5 separate regions of the Homo sapiens genome follow, and regions 2, 3, 4 and 5 are each linked to region 1. Evidence: promoter capture Hi-C in human tissues and cell types (Jung and others, 2019). All regions are on one chromosome and are shown on one strand. Each heading gives the region's core, a stretch centred on a gene start or on the middle of the fragment in contact. The rest is flanking DNA. Distances are from core to core; before and after follow the strand shown.

Evidence for each region. The method cuts DNA at HindIII sites, captures the fragments that hold promoters and counts their contacts. A contact is called where the count stands out against the background at its distance.
Region 2: a contact is called between a fragment that was not itself captured here and the fragment with the promoter of PNMA2 in region 1, in 2 of the 25 tissues and cell types used here (IMR-90 fibroblasts and stomach).
Region 3: a contact is called between a fragment that was not itself captured here and the fragment with the promoter of PNMA2 in region 1, in 2 of the 25 tissues and cell types used here (IMR-90 fibroblasts and aorta).
Region 4: a contact is called between a fragment that was not itself captured here and the fragment with the promoter of PNMA2 in region 1, in 2 of the 25 tissues and cell types used here (dorsolateral prefrontal cortex and hippocampus).
Region 5: a contact is called between a fragment that was not itself captured here and the fragment with the promoter of PNMA2 in region 1, in 2 of the 25 tissues and cell types used here (bladder and stomach).

Annotation. Positions count from the first base shown.
Region 1 is chr8:26,512,370-26,515,214 of GRCh38, forward strand. PNMA2 (PNMA family member 2) reads right to left here and starts at 1,503. Exons shown (of 3, transcript NM_007257.6): 1 at 1,447-1,503. DPYSL2 (dihydropyrimidinase like 2) reads left to right here and starts at 1,662. Exons shown (of 14, transcript NM_001197293.3): 1 at 1,662-2,310. The coding sequence starts at 1,957. RefSeq lists an enhancer at 1-617. The HindIII fragment of the contact is 13,621 bases long and covers 1-2,845 here.
Region 2 is chr8:26,056,345-26,059,189 of GRCh38, forward strand. No RefSeq gene overlaps it. Among named protein-coding and RNA genes, the nearest start is that of EBF2, 12 kb to the left of the region's middle. The HindIII fragment of the contact is 4,310 bases long and covers 1-2,845 here.
Region 3 is chr8:26,110,916-26,113,760 of GRCh38, forward strand. No RefSeq gene overlaps it. Among named protein-coding and RNA genes, the nearest start is that of EBF2, 67 kb to the left of the region's middle. The HindIII fragment of the contact is 8,659 bases long and covers 1-2,845 here.
Region 4 is chr8:26,159,722-26,162,566 of GRCh38, forward strand. The region is part of intron 2 of LOC105379336 (a long non-coding RNA gene); the gene reads right to left. Among named protein-coding and RNA genes, the nearest start is that of EBF2, 120 kb to the left of the region's middle. The HindIII fragment of the contact is 3,893 bases long and covers 1-2,845 here.
Region 5 is chr8:26,211,803-26,214,647 of GRCh38, forward strand. No RefSeq gene overlaps it. Among named protein-coding and RNA genes, the nearest start is that of PPP2R2A, 78 kb to the right of the region's middle. The HindIII fragment of the contact is 5,840 bases long and covers 1-2,845 here.

The DNA.
Region 1 (2,845 bases), core at 253-2,752:
TTCTTCTTCCCCAGTCTGTTTCTCATCCGGAGACGCCTTTCCACCTATCAAGATGGGCTGATCTTCAAATTGCGACTGATTGTCCAGCAGATGTAACTATATTCACCAAACTATCTCTCACAATTGGACTGTGGGGGTGGTTGGTAACCGCATTTAATCCTGGGCTGACAATGGGACTGGATCCCTGGTTACACGGCCCTACGCGGTGGCCCTGCGGTAAACGGCCTCTCAGCCCAAACCCACCCTGGTTACTGAGCATGCCCAGAACTCCCTCCCGGGCCACCAAAGGAGGGGCACCATTTCTGCAGGATTTTGCCACTGTGGAAAGAGAGGCGGAGCTGTCATCGCGCAGAGGCAGGGACTGATACGCGGAAAGGACGTGGAGATGGGAATAAGCAATGAAGGACCAGCATTGACCGTGTTAGGCACACAAATCTAATTGCCCCCTGGTTACTTACCAACCCGGTGGCCGTGGCTCAGCTACTGCACACACACACCAAGTTCCTACACACCTTTCCCCTGCTTGGCCCCACACAATTCATGGCACTCACAGCCCACATCCTACCTCCTACTCCGCACCAGATGCGCACCCGCACTTACTCCCCAAACACGTGGCATCTGGTAACCCGGGAAACGCTGCGACTGTGGCGCAGTGCGCAACAGGGGCGGGGGAACCAGGCGGGGCTCTGGGGCGCAGGGGAAAGCTGGAGATTTGGGAAGGGGGTTTCAGTTTGTTTTTTCTCTCTTTTTTTTTTTTTTTTTTTTTTTTTGGTGGAGGAAGCAGAATAAACCAAATCGCGACACGTTCCTGCGCCCTTCTTGGCGCAGTGGCGCAGACACGGTCCATGGCGCCTTGCGCAATAGAGTCGGTCTGCACCCCGTCTTTAAGTCGTGGCCCTGGGCTGGAATTCCCGACTGCACTCTTTGCTACACCCCCATAGACCGCAGACCTGCGTCTCTCTCTATATTCCTCTCCCATCTGCTACGCCCCTCTGAATTTCTTCCCGCCATGTTGTGTGCCCCCCCCCCACTCCCCCGTCACCCCAACCACACCAAAGTGGATGCACGAAGCGGGAACCTTCTCGTTTCAGTCTCTGCTCCCTGCAGCCTGCCAAGGCGAGTGGACAAACTGAAGCTGGGGTGTCCAGCGTCTTGGCTGCCCCCCTCCTGTCCACCCTGCCTGTGCTATCCTTGCTCATCTTCAGTGCCATCCCGCTTCCCACACCCTGAGTAGCCTGGCGCCCGGCTTGTCCCCTTTTCCCATCCATCAGCTCACACCCAGGGTAACGGGGCGGGACCCCTATCCACAGTGCGCCCTCGCCCCCGGCCCACCTCCGCCATGCGGCGGGGCAGAGGCGCCTGGGCCAGGCAGGTGGAGGAGAGGGGCACTGGGGCTGGGGGCTGCGTCCTCCGGTCCTCACTCCGCGTGCCCTGCCCGATACTTACCCAGGCGCGGAGAGCGGTCAGCGGGCCCTCCGCTCCGCATCCATTAGCTGGTGGTCTGGCCGCTTCACTTCCGGAGCGCGGGGCTAGGGGCGGTGCCGCCCTCCCCTCTCTCTCTCCTTCCCTCCCCTCCAGCCCTCCCCTGAGCACCGCTCCCCTCCCCGGCGCCGCGCCCCGCCCGCGCCTCCCTCCTCCCAGCGCTGCCGGGAACTGGCAGCCTTTCGGCTCCCGCAGCCGCAGCGGACGCCCTCCCAGATCCAACTTTGCCGCTTCCCCGAGCTCGCGCTGTAGCCGCGGGGGGCGTGGGCAGGGAGGGGAGAAGCGGGGTCAGGGGGAGGGACCGGGAGGGTGGGTCGCCGGCTCGCCAGCCCTCCTTCCTTTCTGTGCACCTTGCGGTGGGCGGCGAACGGCAGCCGCGGCAGCAGCTAGGGGGCTTGTGCACACAGCGAGGGAGACTTAGGGACTGGCAGACGGACGGACGGACGGCGAGGACCCTACCCGAGCCCCCGAGCCATGGCCGAGAGAAAGCAATCCGGGAAGGCGGCAGAGGACGAAGAGGTCCCTGCTTTTTTTAAAAACCTGGGCTCCGGCAGCCCCAAGCCCCGGCAGAAATTCTGTGGCATGTTCTGCCCGGTGGAAGGGTCCTCGGAGAACAAGACCATCGACTTCGACTCGCTGTCGGTGGGCCGGGGCTCGGGGCAGGTGGTGGCTCAGCAGCGGGACGTCGCCCACTTGGGCCCGGACCCGCAGCCGCCGTACTCGCGGCAGGGCCGGCGCGCCGGCGGAGAGCCATCTGTTGAATCGGGCCGGAAGGTGGAGATCCGGAGGGCCTCGGGCAAAGAAGCCCTGCAGAACATCAACGACCAGGTCGGTGTGGGGGTTGGGGGTGGAGACGGAGGACGGGGCGCGGGGATCGCCCCTCCCTCGCCCCTGAGCCCGGCGCGCCCGCCTTCATGCCCCGCCCTGGACCTCGCCTCCCGCATCTGCACGCGCACCCCGCCCTACCCGCCCCTTCTCCGCGCAGGGTGCGGCGAGGCTCGGGCTGGGCGGTGGGCGGCCGTGCGCCCACAAAGGCTGCCCGCGTCTCCTTGAGCTTGAGAGGTGGGGCGTGGGCATAGGGAATGGGCTGATCCCCTGCTGGGGCGGGCGGTGGTCGTCTGGGAGGGGGTTGGCCGCGGTTCCATTCTTCTGAAACCCTCCCGGGCGGCTTCCGATTGCAGCTGCGGCTGGGTGCCCCACCCTTTTTTTGAGCGGCTCAGAGCGTGCGGTGGAGGCTTTGCGTGAAGGCCCGCGGCTCCCCGGTGGTCGGGAGGGGCGGGGGTTCGGACGGCCGCTCCCTACAGCCTCCGCCCGCGCCTTCTGCGCTCACGTCCCGAGCTCCGAGGCCAGGACCATGGTCAGC
Region 2 (2,845 bases), core at 211-2,710, 460 kb before region 1:
GAGACCAAGAGTTCGAGACCAGCCTGGTCAACATAGCAAGAACCCCCCGCCCCCCCCCGCCCCATTCTCTATTAAAAAAAAATTAACAAAACTTTCCCATAAAGGCTTTGATAAATTATCTAATTTATTTGATGGTTAATGATTTATTCAGGTTTTCTATCACTTACTGAGTATATTTGGATAATTTTTATTCTCATATAAAATAATCTATATCATTAATATTTTTAAATACATTACCATAGAGCTGTACCTTGTATTCTGCTATAACTTTAATTTTCTGTATCTGAAACAATTTTTTCCCATTGCCAGAGTTGAATATTTTCATTTTGCATCCTGTTTTATTTATTTATTTTTAATACTTTAAGTTGTGGGTTATATGTGCAAAACGTGCAGTTTTGTTACATAGGTATACATGTGCCATGGTGGTTTGCTGCACCCATCAACCCACCACCTACATTAGGTGTTTCTCCTAACGTTATCCCTCCCCTAGCCACCCACCCCCCGATGGACTTGGAACCAACCTAAATGTCCTGTTTTATTTTTATTCCTCCAGACTTTTCTAATTTATACTCCCATCAACAGGGCACCAGAAACTTGGTATTATCTGACTTTGTAATTTTGGCAAATCTGATGGGTATAAAGATATATCTTGCTGTTGTTTTAATGTGCATTTCTTTGCTTGCTGGTGAAGTTGAGCATCTCTTCAAACGTTTTTTAACCATTTGGATCCCCCACCAATTAACCACTTATTGATAGCATTTTTCCACTGGATTTTCAGCCTTGGAGATGGTTGTTGCTGCTGCTTCTGCTGCTGTTGATGTTGATGATTGGCGGAAGGATTTTATATGTTTAGATGTTAATTGTCAGTTTTAGATGTTACAGATATTATCTCTTAATCTGTCATTTGTCTATAACTTGGTCAGTGTTGTCCTCTGCTGATTAGCAATGCTTTATTTTTATCTGGTCAATTCCGTCCACTTTTGTGCTTTGGAGTCCTACTTAAGAAGTCTTTCTACACCTCAAAATTACACAAAAAAATCCAACACTTCTAATTTCGTCTTTTACATCCACATGTTTAATCCCATGCATATGAGATTAACTTGTGACATTGTCTAAAATAGTGGTCCAGATTCTGTTTTCTCCATTAAATGAGCTATAACTGAACTATTATACCACCAAATGCCTTGTAGCATGGCAAGAAAGAAAATTGTCCCAAATATGGTCTGGGACACAATTTTCTTTATGTATGTGATATAATTTATAATTCCTTCTGGGAAATAATTAGCATCCTTGTGTGATTTTTTGGTAGACTTTATTGAGCTCAAGAGCATCTTCTGAGAAGCTATCAGTCTTGAGAAGAGTCTGATAACATTAACTGGCACTGCCTTATTGTATTTTTCTACAACCTCTTCTTCAAAGAAAAAAATCTGCAATGGCTGGCTCAGGACCTTCTTTCCCCAGGGCAAATCTGAAATAAAGCTTTGACATGAGCCTGTAAGAATTTTTTCAGAAAGGGTACTTTAACAACAGCCTACATAGTCTTCAGCTCTTCTAGATAGAACTGAAGACTGTATGGATGAACCTTCCCCTCCATCCACTCACGCCTGTAATATGTCTTAGAGAAATTCCTTAAAGTTTATTATATGAGAATAGCACCTCTGTCTAGTTTCCAGCAATAATGGGCTTTTAAAAATTATATTTCTCAGTATTTGAGAAGTTTCTTGGACATGACATGTGGATATTATCATTTTTTACAACAATATCACTGCCTCCATTACAGTTCTGTTTGGTAAAACTTCCCAAGAATTGTTTAGAATCTTTAAGTGTTAATTCCCAGTATTTTTACTCTCATTGAAATGACAATTTAAGTTGTTTAAAGTGTTATTTTCCCAGTAGTTCTACAATGGTTCATAAATGATCTCTTTCTTTAAACTGCCAATTCTCTTTCTATGTCTAAGGACTTTACATATTCAGTGCTCTTCCTACAGAGGGGAGTGAATTTGAATATTTGGGGTGAGCTACTTAACATCAGCATGCTTCACTGTTTTCATGTATAAAACATAATGATGATATAGTTTAGAAATTTTTTATTGTTTTTCAGGTAATGGGAGTTGAGACTGAGTCCCAGATGGATTTTTATTCAGATCCTCCAGGCCTTAATGAAAAAAGAATCAGAAGCTTTAGGTTATTGTGCATTTTACTTCTCTAGATTTAAGCTCCAATGGGCTATGGAGAACAGGAAGGCAGCTACAACTACAAGCAGCCGTACCAGGGAGCTTCATCTTCATGTCGGAGGGTTTTGTTTTTTTTTTTTGAGATGGAGTCTCTGTTGCCCAAAGTGGAGTGCAGTGGCTCAATCTCTACTCACTGCAACCTCTGCCTCTCAGGTTCAAGTGATTCTCATACCTTAGCCTCCCGAGTAGCTGGGACTACAGGTGTGCACCACCATGCCCAGCTAATTTTTGTATTTTTAGTAGAGACAGGGTGTCACCATGTTAGCCAGGCTGGTCTAGGACTCCTGACCTCAGGTGATCCACCCGCCTCAGCCTCCCAAAGTGCTGGGATTACGGGCATGAGCCACCATGCCCAGCCCATGTCTGAGAGTTTTATCTTTATATTTCTTAGGACAACCTAATGTTAACTGCAACAGTGATATTTTATTTAGGGTTCCTCTGCCCTCCTTAGGGTCAATCTCTGTAGCACCCATACCGTGTTTAGGATACATCCCAAACAGATAATATTATGTGTGTCAGAGTAGGCCCTCACCCTGAGCCTCTCCCTGTGCCCAGTGCACAGCTGGGAGGCACAGGTAGAACTCAGCTCCCCATGCCATCTCCAGGTCCGT
Region 3 (2,845 bases), core at 152-2,651, 400 kb before region 1:
CTGAATCATTAAGGAAGAATGGAATTGTTTATCTTCAGATGACTTTTAAAGTTTGCAAAGCTAGTAATCCCTATATGAGTCACATATAAGAGCTCTTAGCAATCAGTGTACTTTATAAGAAAACAATTCAATCCCCAAGCATGTAGGGTGATTCTGCTGCCCTACCACAGGCACCTGTTACTAGGAACAGGTGTAGGGAGACTTGCTATTGCCTAATGTCTACCTGCCGACTATCCAGAGCAAGTTTCAGAACATGTGGGTTCTGGTTTCTCCTCTCACACGGAAACCACTAACCTCATCTGCTGGTTCAGTTCTGTGTCCTCCCCAACCAGACTCCAGACACCCTCAAAGGAGTACCCTAGCTCTAGCCGTCAGAGGAATGAGCCCTCCTGATATCTTTAAATGTCTTCCTAAGGCTTTCAGGAGCAAACTTGATTCTCTCCAAAGCAAACTGGTAACTCAGAAAGCACCAACTCTTGCCTTTTAGCTCAATTCCATCACGCCTTCTTCAGATAGGTATCTATAGCTAGACTCCAGCCCCTCCTTCTCAGCCATTTACAGCAGTGATTCTCAACCTTGGCTTCCATTAGAGTCATTATAGAAGAAGACCTACCTGGCTTGCTGCCACCAAAGACTGTGCTTCCACAAATTCTCCAACAAATCTCCGTCTACCAACAACAATAACAACAAAAAGAATCATTACAGAAGCTTTTAAAAATATCAATGCCTAACTCTCAACACAAACAAAAATTAACTCAAAATATCAAAGACCTAAATGTAAGAGTGAAAATTACAAAACTCTTAGAAGAAAACAAGGGTGTATGTTGAACTTAGCAATGGATTCTTAGATATGAGACCAAAAGCACAGTCAACAAAATTAAAAATACATAAATCAGACTTCATCAAAATTAAGAACTTTTGTGTATCAAAGAATACTAGCAAGAAAGCAAAAAGACAACCTACAGAATGGGAGAAAATATTTGCAACTTATACATCTGAGTGTATAAAGGTCTAGTATCCAGAATATATAACTCTTACAACTCATTAAAAATGACAAGCAACTCAATTTAAAAATGGGCAAAGGACTTGAATAGACAGTTCCCCAAAGATACAGAAATAGCCAAGAAGCAGATGAAAAGATGTTCAACATTAGTCATTAAGAAAATGCAAATCGCCATGCACAGTGGCTCACATATGTAATCCCAGTACTTTGGGAGGCCAAGGTGGGTGGATCACCTGAGGTCAGGAGTTCGAGACCAGCCTGGCCAACATGGTGAAACCCCATCTCTACTAAAAACACAAAAATTAGCCGGGCATGGTGGCTCACACCCATAGTCCCAGCTACAGGCATGAGAATCACTTGAACCTGGGAGGCAGAGGTTGCAGTGAGCCAAGATCCTGCCACTGCACTCCAGCCTGGGCGACAGAGAAAGACACTGTTTCAAAAAAAAAAAATATATATATATATATATGTATATATATATATATATATATATATATGCAAATTAAAATCACAATGAAATACCAACTTACATCCACTAGAATGCCATATTTAAAAAAAAAAAAAAGGAAAATCACAACTGTTGGCAAGGAGGTGGAGAAACAGGAACATTGCTGGTAGGATTGTAAAATGGTGCAGCCACTGTAGAAAATAGCTTGGCAGTGCCACAAAAAGTTAAAGATAGAGTTACCATATGACCCAGCAACTCTACTCCTATGTATACAACCAAAGTAATTGAAACCAGGCATTAAAACAAAAATTTGTACATGAGGCTGGGCACAGTCGCTCACATCTGTAATTCTAGCACCATGGCAAGCGGAAGCAGACAGATCACCTGAGGTCAGGAGTTCAAGACCAGCCTGGCCAACATGATGAAACCCCGTCTATACTACAAAATACAAAAACTAGGCTGGGAGCAGTGGCTCACACCTGTAATCCCAGCACTTTGGGAGGGCGGGGCGGGCAAATCACTTGAGGTCAGGAGTTTGAGACCAGCCTGGCCAACATGGTGAAACCCTGTCTCTACTAAAAATACAAAAAAATAAGCCAGACGTGGTGGTGGGTACCTGTAATCCCAGCTACTCAGGAGGCTGAGGCAGGAGAATTGCTTGAATCTGGGAGGCGAAGGTTGCAGTGAGCCAAAATCGCACCACTGCACTCCAGCCTGGGCAACAGAGCGAGACTCTGTCTCAATAAAATAAAATAAAAATACCAATACAAAAATTAGCCAGGCCAAGTGGCACACACCTGTAATCCCAGCTACTTGGGAGGTTGAGGTCAAGGGATCACCTAAGCCCAGGAAGGTCGCGGCTGCAGTGAGCCAAGATCACGCCACTGCACTCCAACCTGGGTCACAGAGTGAGACTCTGCCTCAGGAAAAAAAAAAAAAAAAAAAAAAGTACATGAATGTTCATAGCAGCATTCTGCATAGTAGCCAAAAAGTGGATACAATCCAAATGTCCATCAGCAAATGAAGGGATAAGCAAAATGTGGCATATCCATACAGTGGAGTATTATTCAGCCATGGAAAGGAATGAAGTGCTGATAGATGCTACAACATGGATAAACCTTGAAAACGTGCTATGAGAGACAGCAGACAAAAAGTCACATTTTGTGTATTATTCCATTTATATGAAATATCCAGAAGAGGTGAATTCATAGAAACAGAAAGCAGAATTGTTGTTGCTAGAAGCTGTGGGTGGAGATGGAGAGTGGCTTCTTAAGGGGTACAGACTACCCATCCCATAACGATGGAACTAGAGAGAGGTGATGGTTGCTCAACACTGTGAATGTATTAAATGCCACTGAATCGTTCACTTTAAAATGGTTCATTTTGTTATGTGA
Region 4 (2,845 bases), core at 102-2,601, 350 kb before region 1:
AAATTTTCCAAACATTTATGCTCTGTTTCTCTTTTAAAACTGATTGCTCTTAGAGCACCCAAGTCATCTTTTGAATGCTTTGCTGCTTAGAAATTTCTTCCACCAGATACCCTAAATCATCTTTCTCAAATTTAAAGTTCCACAAATCTCTAGGGCAGGGGCAAAATTCTGCCAGTCTCTTGGTTAAAACATAACAAGAGTCACCTTTGCTCCAGTTCTCAACAAGTTCTTCATCTCCATCTGAGACCATCTCAGCCTGGACCTTATCATTCATATTACTGTCAGCATTTTTGTCAAAGCCATTCAACAAGTCTCTTAGAAGTTCCAAACTTTCCCACATTTTCTTGTCTTCTTCTGAGCCCTCTAAACTGTTCCAACTTCTGCCTGTTACCCAGTTCCAAAGTTGCTTCCACATTTTTGGGTATCTTTCAGCAGTGCCCTACTCAATTGGTACCAGTTTACTGTATTAGTCCGTTTTCATGCTGCTGATAAAGACATACTCTAGACTGGAAAGAAAAAGAGGTTTAATGGACTTACATTCCACATGGGCTGGAGAGGTCTCACAATCACGGCAGAAGGCAAGGAGAAGGAAGTCACATCTTACACGGATGGTGCCAGGCAAAGAGAGAGCTTGAGCTTGTGCAGGGAAACTCCCATTTTTAAAACCATGAGATCTCGTAAGACTCATTCACTACCATGAGAACAGTGCAGTAAAGACCCTATCCCATAATTAAATCACCTCCCACTGGGTTCCTCCCACAACACATGGGAATTGTGGGAGTCACAATTCAAGATGAGATTTGCATGGTGACACAGCCAAACCATATCACCTACCCTACTTAAACATGCTCAGAACACTTTCAGTATCCAAAAAATTACATGAGATAGTCAACACTTTATTATAAAATAGGCTTTGTGTTAGATGATTTGGCTCAGCATCACAAGAGAGTATCATTCTGTATATCACTTGCCTGGGAAAAGACCAAAATTCAAAATTCAAAAAGTGCGGTTTCTACTGAATGTGCCTCGTTTTTGCACCATCGTAGAGTAAAAAAATTGTAAATTGAACCATTGTAAGTTGAGGACTGTCTGTGTATATGCTAGGTCAAGACTGGAAGTGAACTAAAATGAAAGTAGTTGCTTTAGGTGAGTGAGTTTATAGCTGATTTTTTTCTCTTCTTCTTTCTTTTCCCTTCCCCTTCCTATCCTGAAACAATTTAGCCCTAAAGCCATTAGGAGGGGCAGAGTAAGGTAGGTGGGACAAGGGGGTGTGGGGATGGGGGCACCAGAGCAGAATTGAGAGCCCAGCAGGCAAGAAGTGCATGCATGTTTGGCACAGGGTGCCTAAAAGGAAAGAAAAAACAATTCAGTTTTTCTCTATCCTCAACACTTCTGACAACAAATATATGGGTTTTTTCCATGCCAAGCAGTTCTCCAATTTTCAGCAAAGACACCAACTGAGTGTCCTTCAATTTTGACACTAATTTTCTGGAGTTAACATCTGCTGTGGTTTATTCATCCCCACCAAATCTCACATTGAAATTTGATCCCAAATATGGTGGTGTTTGGTATATTAGGAGATGTTTGGTTCGTCCTCATAAATAGATCATAGCCTTTCCTGGGGGTGGGGAGTGGGTGAGTTTTCACTCTGTTAGTTCTGTGAAAGCTGGTTGTTAAAGAGAGCCTGGCACCTTCTGCCTCTCTCCTGCTTCCTCTCTCACCATGTGATCTCTGCACACGCCGGCTCCCCTTCAACTTCTCTGTGAGTGGAAGCAGCCGAAGGCCCTCACCAGATGTAGATGCCTAACCTCCAGAAAAGACTGAGGCAAGTATCAATCAATTTAGAGGTTTATTTTACCAAAGTTGAGGATGTACCTGGGTTGTAGGGGAAGGGGGCAGTGACCACAAGTCACAGGAGCACCTGTGACCTGTGACTTTTCTGAGAGAGTTTTGAGGACTTCAATATTTAAAAGGGAAAGAGCAACCAAGAGGTGAAGGAGGAAAGAAATAAAGGAGGGAAGGTAGGCAATGAGGCAGGTACATTCTGGGGAGGCTTTGATTAGTGCTCACTGAATCTACATTTTACATGTGAAAAGTGGAGGTAGAGGAGCAGTCAATTATGCATTCATCTCATGCTCAGTAAATCTACATTTTACATAAGATAAACAGAGTAGAGGAACAGTCAATTATGCATTCATCTCATGCTCAGTAAATCTACATTTTACATAAGATAAACATAAAGTAGAGGAAGCAGTCAATTATGCATTTGTCGTGGGGTGGGTGGAGGGATGGCTCCGGTCTTGTCCTTGTCCGATACCTGTGAATATAAGCTATTAATTTGTATTGTCAGGATGAAATTCAACAGACCTCTGTTTTAGGATTAGTTAACTGAAAGATTTGAGGGCCCACAAGGAATTTCCTTGAAAGCAATTTGTGAAAGCACTACCTGGGGAGATACATGGCCTTTGATCACTGCAGCTAGATAGATGGTTTAGGAACAAACAGAAAGGCAGTTTTTGTTGTTGTTGTTGTTGTTGTTGTTTGTTTTTTGCATAACTCAGTTTCCAAGCTTAACTGTCCCTTTGGCATAGTGAGTTGGGGTTCCAACATCGTGTTTTTCATTCACAATGGCAACACAAAATAGACTAAGACAGCATCAAACCCTGCAAGTTAAAGGGCTCAGTCCCACAAGACTGCTCCCACTTCAGATGCTAGTCACAGGTCCCAGGTTAACACCTGCACTTCTGGCTGAGTTGGCTGCATAATGGGAGTTCCCATGACCCCCTCCTCTGGTTTGATAATTTGCTATAAAAGCACACAGAATTCAAGGAAATGTTTTGGTAAC
Region 5 (2,845 bases), core at 174-2,673, 300 kb before region 1:
TCAAGTCTTTTTTTTTTTTTTTTTTTTTTTTTGAAACAGAGTCTTACTCTGTTGCCCAGGCTGGTCTGCAGTGGCCCCATTCTGGCTCCCTGCAACCTCTGCCCTCTGGGTTCAAGCAATTCTCCTGCCTCAGCCTCCCGAGTAGCTGGGATTGCAGGCGCCCACTACCATGCCCAGCTAATTTTTGTATTTTTAGTAGAGATGGGGTTTCTCCATGTTGGCCAGGCTAGTCTTGAACTCCTGACCTCAAGTAATTCACCTGCCTTGGCCTCCCAAAGTGCTGGGATTATAGGCGTGAGCCACCATGCCTGGCCCCTGGTTCATCTCTTGGCTTATTATTAGTGATGGAGCTGAGATAAATTACTTGATTTCTGTGAACCTCCACCTCCTTATCTGTAAAATGAGGGATAATAAGAGATCCCAACTCATTAGTTAACTGGGTAAATAAGTCAATTAATGTAAAGTTATTGGCATGGCCTCTTACTGGCCTGTGATACTAGGGCTCAGTAAATGTGAGTTATTATTGTCAGAATGAAAGGAGACAATGAGTGAACAGCACGTGGCCCATAGTGAGTGTGGAGAAAATATTGTTTGGTATCATTACATCCCAACTTGAGCTTATTTCTCTGGACTTCTTTGTCTCACTCTGAAAAGCCTGCTCCCCTCCAATGTTCCCTCGCTCCGCAGATGGGGTCTTTATGCTCCCATTTTCCTACACACACACCTCCCCCCCGATATCCAAGCAATCACCAGGTTCTAGCTGCTGGGCCATATTAATCCCTTGCCAATCAATCTACTTCTTTCCATCCCTGGTTCCAGCCTGTAAGTGTCTTGTTAGGGACTGAATGTTTGTGTTATCACCTCAATTCACATGTTGAAATCCTAACCCACAATGTGATGGTATTCGAAGGTGGGGCTTTCGGATGGTAGTTAAGTCATAGGAGTGGAGCCCTCGATAATGGCATTAGTGCCCTTATAAAAGAGACCCCAGAGAGCTCCGGAGCTCTTTCAGCCACCTGAGGACACAGTAAGAAGACGGCGGTCTCTGAACCAGGAAGTGGGCCCTCACCAGATACCAAATCTGCTGGAGCCTTGATTTGGGGTTTCTCAGCCTCCAAAACTGTGAGAAACAAGAAGCTGGAGATGATTGCAACACCTCTTCCTTGCATTAGGGCAAAGCTTCCTCCTGATCTCTCTGCCTCTAGTCTTGTCCCTGGCCAATCCATTCTTCACACTGCAGCAAGAGTGACTGTCCAAAATGCGCATCTAATCCAGTGATTTCCCTGAGGGCTTCGCTTTGCCCTCAGGCTGAAGTCCAATTATCTAATTGGATTGCAAAGCTTGTTAAGGTATGAACTTTGCTTTCCTCTCCAGAGTCAACTCCCAAACTCATTTCACTTTGTTTCTAGATACTGCTTTCTGGAGCCTCTGTATCCAGTGTTTTCTTCTAGAACCTCCTCACCTCACCACCCGGGTCCTCCAGCTCACTGCTTGGATGTCACTGGCACTAGGAAGTTTATCTGATTGCCACCAAACTAGATAGGGTGGTTGCCTCCTATTTACTCTCCTAGAAATGCCACCAAACTAGATAGGGTGGTTGCCTCCAATTTACTCTCCTAGAAACATGTGACTCTGCTGACAGTTATCACACTGTTTATAATTGCCTGTTTGTTTTCCACCTTTAGACCATAAAAGTCACCAAATAATGGTTAAATGCATATATGGGCAACAAACAAACAGCTGCTCTTTATCCTAAGTGGCCTGTGACACTGTTAGTGACTCTTGCAACAACGTGGGTGGCCCTTTTCCAACCTCTCCCTAACAACATATGTGCAATGCACCACCAGGCATACAGGCAGGAAATCAGGAGAGCTGAGTTTAAGTTGTGTCTTTGCCATTTACTAGCTATGTGATCTTGGTAAAGCCACTTACACATTTTGAGTATCAGTTTCCTCATCTAAAAAGTGGGGAAAATATGGCCGGGCACAGTGGCTCATGCCTGTAATCCCAGTACTTTGGGAGCCCAAGGCGGTGGATTACTTGAGGTCAGGAGTTCAAGACCAGCCTGGCCAACATGGTGAAACCCTGTGTCTACTAAAAATACAAATATATATATATATATATCAGGTGTGGTGGTGTGCACCTGTAATCCCAGCTACTCAGGAGGCTAAGGCAGGAGAATCATTTGAACCCAGGAGACAGGTTGCAGTGAGCTGAGATCATGCCACTGCACTCCAGCCTGGGTGACAAAGCGAGACTCTGTCTTAAAAAAAAAAAACAAAAAAACAGGGAGCGGGATGCAGAATAAGCTCCAATAATGTCTATGTAGCTTTGTAAACTGCAAATCACCACGTGGTGCCAATTCCAACTCTTTCCTTTTTTCGGTTCTTGGTTTGCCCTCTTTTCTGCCTCAGACTCTCTCTTGCTTTCCTTTTCTTCCCCCTCCTCTTGTCCTGCAGGGGCCCCTAAGACTTGGCTGATGGCCTCTCTCTCATGGTTATCAGAGCACCCAGGGACAGAGGGTTACCATTCATTGAGGAGGAGCCCAGAAGAGTCTAGAACTGGTCAGCCAGGACACAGAGTCTGAGCTAACACTGACTCCTGGAGTGTTGCTTTGTCATTTATTCACTAGAGGCCTGCTTCCCCCATCCTTGAGATGCTCTGTGATTTTCACGTAGAATTCCCAGAGCGGCGCCTTGCTTCTCATCCTAAACACTCAACATCGTTATCTTTCAGAGACCCCCTGCAGGAACTTTCCCTTCTTTGAGTCAAATTTTTCTGCAACAACTAATGTAGCATTTAAAATGAGAAAGTTAGAAATTTGAGGATTCCTCTTAAGGCAAAC